2 separate regions of the Homo sapiens genome follow, and region 2 is linked to region 1. The links are contacts of gene promoters, found by promoter capture Hi-C in blood cells and fetal thymus (Javierre and others, 2016). All regions are on one chromosome and are shown on one strand. Each heading gives the region's core, a stretch centred on a gene start or on the middle of the fragment in contact. The rest is flanking DNA. Distances are from core to core; before and after follow the strand shown. Region 1 holds the start of FAM200B (family with sequence similarity 200 member B). Region 2 overlaps C1QTNF7-AS1 (C1QTNF7 antisense RNA 1).

Region 1 (2,843 bases), core at 187-2,686:
CTGGGTGCAGTGGCTCACCCCTGTAATCCCAGCACTTTGGGAGGCCCAAGTGGGTGGATCACCTGAGGTCAGGAGTTCGAGACCAGCCTGGCCAAAATGGTGAAACCCCGTCTTTGTATTTTTGAAAAATACAAAAATTAGCCTGGCATGGTGGCGGTCGCCTGTAATCCCAGCTACTCGGGAGGTTGTGGCAGGGGAATCGCTTGAACCAGGAGGCTGAGGTTGCAGTGAGCCGAGGCTGCGCCACTGCACTCCAGCCTGGGCGAGAGAGTGAGACTCCGTCTCAAAAATTAAAAAAAAAAATCCAGTTGGAGAATCAAAAATTTTTAAAAATTTGACTGTGTAATCCTACAAGAAGTAAGTAGCTTGAGAAAGAGAAATGCTGATAAAGTCGCATTAAGTTTCAGAGTTGAAATTCAAGCTCCTGTATCTAACATGTTTCCCTGTTTAAGGTAGAATTTAAAAAAAAACTATATATGACATATATATGTCAACCCAAAAAAATAAAGCAGTATATATTATATATATAAGAATATATATATATTCTCCTTTATATGTTTTTTGTTTCACATATATATATAAATATATATCTCAACCACAAAAAAATTTGGTTTGTGACAAAGATGCACTTATTTGCACGAACCTATCTTGTTAATGATCAAGAAATCTGCTTTGTTACAATCATTAGAGGACAGAAATATACATACATATTTAAATCTATTTAATGAAATGCAGTTTTATGTTAAAAATCAATGATCTGCTAACCTAAAGAGTCGCACAGGAATACTATGATTATTAAACACAATGCGATTCTCTAAATAAGTAAACACGTGCAATGATATCAAAGTTCAAAATTCTCTAATTCTTCCACAAAGACTATGAAAATCACCTTGGAGTGTATGAACCAGCGTCCTGGCCCCGCCAGGTCGGGGCTGGGGCGGGCGCGGGCCGGGAGCGCTTACCCCGCGGCAGGAGCGATTCAGCGCCACTACCTGCTTCGCCTGGTTGTGGTGTGGCTGCTGCGCCAACCGAAAGGCCTCCTTAATCCGCAGCAGTCTCTTTTCGCTCCCATGGCTCTGGGACTCTGTCCGGACTAGCCCTGTCCGCGCTCGGCTACATCCGGCCCGCCCACCAGCTCAGAGGCAGAGTTCTCCGCGGTGTCTCCTAGGGTTTCTTGTCAGAGGGCCCCAGGCGCCTAGGGAGTCGTTACCGCCCTGGCATTCAAATAACTCCCGCGAGAGGCGGAAATCCCGCGAGACTGCCGACAGAGCGTAGGGAAGTGGAAAAGTGGAGCCTGCACCGCCCGCTCCCGGCACCCCCGGACACCGCCCCGGTCTCACGCATGCGCAGAGGGCCGATCCAGTTCTTTTCGGCTGGAATGGGGAATTTGTGAGGTAGGCCGGAAGTGGTGTTGCGGAGGGAAGTGTGGGGAGAGCAGAGGCGCAGCTCTGCTGGAGAGACCTGAGGCTTGCAGCGCTGGGCCCGGCCGGGTCGCTGCGGCTGGGCTGGAGGTGAGGCGAAAGAAGGGCATCCTCTGATGGGAGTGGACCGGAGTCCGCTAAAGCGAAGCATTCCAGGGTTCGTTGCGGGAAATACAGTCTGGTTTTGCCCCCCGTATGAATTGAGGGAAGGTGAGAGCAGAAGCAATCCGGGCCTGAAGGGCGATTATTCTAGGGTCGGCCGAGGGGTTCAGGCCAAAGTTCATTGAAATCCTAGCTGGGTCCCTGGAGGACGAGAAAACCGGTCAGGAGTCTCCTGGGAAGAGGGTCATGTTTTAATCTAGCTAAAGCTGGTACCTGGCAGTTTCCACTCTTAAGGCCTAGTGTACTAACTAATGTGTGCGCAATGTCAAAACAGGAAACAAAGGGAAATGCAAGAGGTGGAAGGTAATTTTAAGTTAGTGGCAGTATGACAGATTTCCAGTGCCTTCAGGAAGGTATCCAGCCTTAAAGATGCTTTTTTTAAATAGACGATTTTAGACAGAAAAAAGGTAGAAACAAAACTATAACACATGTGTACTCACCACTGAATTGGAGAAATAAATGATTATATAAGTGATTGAAGTCCTTTGTCAGCTCTACCCCGTCTCATTCTCTTTCCTTTTGCCTAAGGAAACCACTCTCCTAACCACCTTTATGCAATCTGTAATGTGTACATCTTTTTGCAGCTAGCTTGTTTTACATAATGTTTTTGAGATTTGTCAGTGTTGTGTAACTCCACCTTATTCATCTTAATAGCTGAACAGATATTCTGTTATTTTAATATGTCACTGTTCATTGTTTAGTATCTCCAGTGCCTGACATACTTTAGGCACTGTAGGTAGCTAAATGTTAGTTGAATGCATGGCTGCTGTAGCATTTGAACTAAGTAGAAAAGAATAAATAGGACTTCATGTGACCCAACAAGAGTATTCCAGGCAAAAGGAATACTAGCCAAAAGCAGAGACATGAAAGTGCATGAACTATTTCAAGAATTTCCATACTTTTAGTACTGAAATGTAGAATGTATGGAGATCATGTGATGAAGGAGAAACCTGGAAAGATGAGGCTTAAGCTTAAAGGATATTATCCTGAAGAGCTTACACAAGCTCGGCGCCATTAAATGCTTTTCCAGTTATGAGGAAGCTGATTAGAGCTGTATTTTCAGAAGATGATACAGCGCACTAGAGATATATCTTAGGATATAAAAGATTAGTGACGGGGAATTTTAGACTATCAAGCATTGTAACAATAACAATCATTGCATTAAGCAAGTAAGACAACCAGCCAGACTAAAAATCCAAAAACATTTTCCTAGTCCATCATATTATCACATTCCTTAACAATTATTAATATTTCATATTT
Region 2 (2,843 bases), core at 162-2,661, 270 kb before region 1:
AGGGTGAAATTGCTATTATTTTTATTCAACTGGACATCACTGTATCATGGTAGTGATGGTCCTCAGCCTCAGGCCCTTCATCCAAATTATCTGGGAAGCTTGTTAAAAATCGAGATTTTCAAGGCCTCCAAGACTCTAAGTGATTGCAGCTTGCGAATGGGCCTCTGTATCTATCTGTATTTATTTAGTGCTCCTTATTTACAATGGTTTTCTCAGGAAAGACAAACTGGGGATGAAAGATGAATGTGGAAGAAAGACTTATTTTCACTATTCATGCTTTTCATTATGAAATTTTTAAAAACCATTGTGTACATGCATAGCCATGGTCAGAACCTATGAATCTAGTGAGATGCTGTTGGATCTCTTAAAAACAGAGCATTGTGCAGAATCACCAGGAGGGTCTCGGGCAGTCTAGTCAGGCTGAGCTCCTGGAGGAGACAGTGAATTGTGGAGTCCGACGGCCCAGGGTCTGAACGTGCTCTGCCCACCCAATGAGACACCCTGGGCTTGGTGTGCTCACTTTAGTGAGCATCTCATCTATGAAATCTGTATAATAGGACCCACTTACCAGAGTTGTTAGGCTGAAATAGGACAATACATATAAAGCATTCCACACACAGTTTGGCACATAGGGAACCTTCAGTAAATCATAAATATGATGACTCTTTTTTTCTCCATTGTCCTTGTGCTGGAATGAAGGTTATTGAAATGATCACAATTGAATTATCTGGGAAAGCAAAACTCTTCTTTGTCTCATAAAACCAAGTCAGTTGACTTAAAGCCAGAAAGTGTATGTGCTAAAACAGTTTCTACATACCCCATGAAGTGCTAATGGCCAAAATTTCTCACCCCAGCCTTCCTGCCGTTAGCACTAATCCAGGAAACTAGAACTCCTGAGGCATTTTAATTTAGAATTATAAATGTGTGCAGTCATAATTTTCTTAGACATCTTCCACACTATTTTGGAGCTTTGGCTTATTGCTTTATGTTTGCATTTAATTTTTTTTCTTAGAGATGTAAATAATTATGTTACTAAATATATGGGAAATAGAAAGTAGGAAAAAAACAGTTCATAATTCCACCACTTTCACAATGGATACCAGCATTTTGGTATATTTTCTGCCAGGCTGTTAACGTGTGAGCTTTATCATTACAAGCATTATAATCATATTGAACACAATTTTGACTCTCAATGTTTCTCTTAACAGTATATTGTGAATATTTTCCTTATGATGGAAAAGGCATTATAACTACCTTTTCAACTAACTGCATAATATTCCACTAAGTGACTAACCCACAATATATTTAACAACTCTACTATTACATGACATTTTGGTTTATTCCAATTTTTTCTGGTTTTCACAGTGCTGCAATAAACATCTTTGTATGTGAACATTTTTATTGAATTCATAATTATTTCTTAGGCTAGATTCACACAATTGGCTAGCCTTCAGTTTTAGAGATATGAAATTACATTAGATTATGGTATTAAACTAACTAGGTGAACTTAGAAAAATCACCAGGATTTCACGTGAATATGCTTTCTCTCTGGTTTTCAGAACTATTAGGGGAACAAATCTTTTGCAAAGCAGCACGAAGGCAGCCTGTAATCTACCAGAGACATACAGAATTGCAACAAGGTCAAAGGGCACCACTTTATTTGGCTGCTACAATATCAACATCAATTTCGAGTTACAACCCAGAAACAAAACAGAGTTTTGAAAAGCAGCAGTGCCTGTCATCCAAATTGCATTTCCTGTTTCACACGCGAACAGGAAGGAAAAGAAACTGCCACTGGCCCCCTACTGAAAGAGACTCTCACTGTGGAAATGTACGTGCATACTAACTTCCATTATTGCAAGGAGTCAGCAAATTCATTCCAATAAGAACTTATTATATTAATAACCATTTACATTTATTGAGCACTTACAATGTGCCAGTGTTCTTAAATATCCTAAACATATACTAACTTTTTCCCATTTTCTGGAAGGCACACTGAGGCATAAAGAGAACATCATTTTCTGAAGATGACAATGATTTTCACAGGAAAGACAAACGAGATGAAAGATGAATGTGCAAGGAAGACTTATTTTCACTATTCATGCTTTTCATTATGAAATATTAAAAAAAAACCACTGTGCACATGCACAGCCATGATCAGAAACTATGAACCTAGAGAGATGCTGTTGGATCTCTTTAAAACACACCATTGTGCAGAATCACCAGGAGGGTCTCTGGCAGCCTAGTCAGCCTGCATTCCTAGAGGAGACAGTGAGCTATGGAGTCTGACAGCCCATGGTCTCAATGTGCTCTGCCCACCCAATGTGAAAGTGGTTAGTAGGAGGTGGAGCTGGGCTTCAAACCCAGGTATGCTGGCTTCAGAAATCACTGTCTAAACCAACCCGGACACCCCTATTCTTTTTGTTGCCTACAGCCCTGGCAGGGTCTCCTGGCTTCCCCTGGTATAGTAATTTTCTATAACGGCTATAACAAATTATCACAAACCTGGTGGAGCAGTTACCATCTTATGGTTCTGAAAGTCAGAAGTCTCAGGTGGGCTTCCAGGGCTACATTCCTCTTGGATGCTCTGGGGGAAAAGCTGTTTCCTTGCCTTTTCTATCTTCTAGAGCAGGAGTCCCCAGTCCCTGAACCACGCACCGGTACTGGTGCAAGGCCCATTAGGAATGGGGTAGCACAGCAGGAGGTGAGTGGCAGGCGAGTCAGTGAAGCTTCATCTGTATTTACAGCTGCTCCCCATCACTCACATTACCACCTGAGCTTCACCACCTGTCAGATCAGCAACAACATTATATTCTCACAGGAGCGCAAACCCCATTGTGAAC

Evidence for each region. The method cuts DNA at HindIII sites, captures the fragments that hold promoters and counts their contacts. A CHiCAGO score of 5 or more calls a contact.
Region 2: a fragment that was not itself captured here is called in contact with the fragment with the promoter of FAM200B in region 1 in 1 of 17 cell types (naive B cells); the score reaches 5.7 in naive B cells.

The regions. Positions count from the first base shown.
Region 1 is chr4:15,680,391-15,683,233 of GRCh38, forward strand. FAM200B (family with sequence similarity 200 member B) reads left to right here and starts at 1,437. Exons shown (of 2, transcript NM_001145191.2): 1 at 1,437-1,511. It also overlaps a transcript of FBXL5 not described here. RefSeq lists enhancers at 937-1,236, 1,407-1,646, 1,657-1,706. The HindIII fragment of the contact is 4,207 bases long and covers 1-2,551 here.
Region 2 is chr4:15,409,235-15,412,077 of GRCh38, forward strand. The region is part of intron 1 of C1QTNF7-AS1 (C1QTNF7 antisense RNA 1); the gene reads right to left. It also overlaps a transcript of C1QTNF7 not described here. Among named protein-coding and RNA genes, the nearest start is that of C1QTNF7-AS1, 17 kb to the right of the region's middle. The HindIII fragment of the contact is 2,631 bases long and covers 97-2,727 here.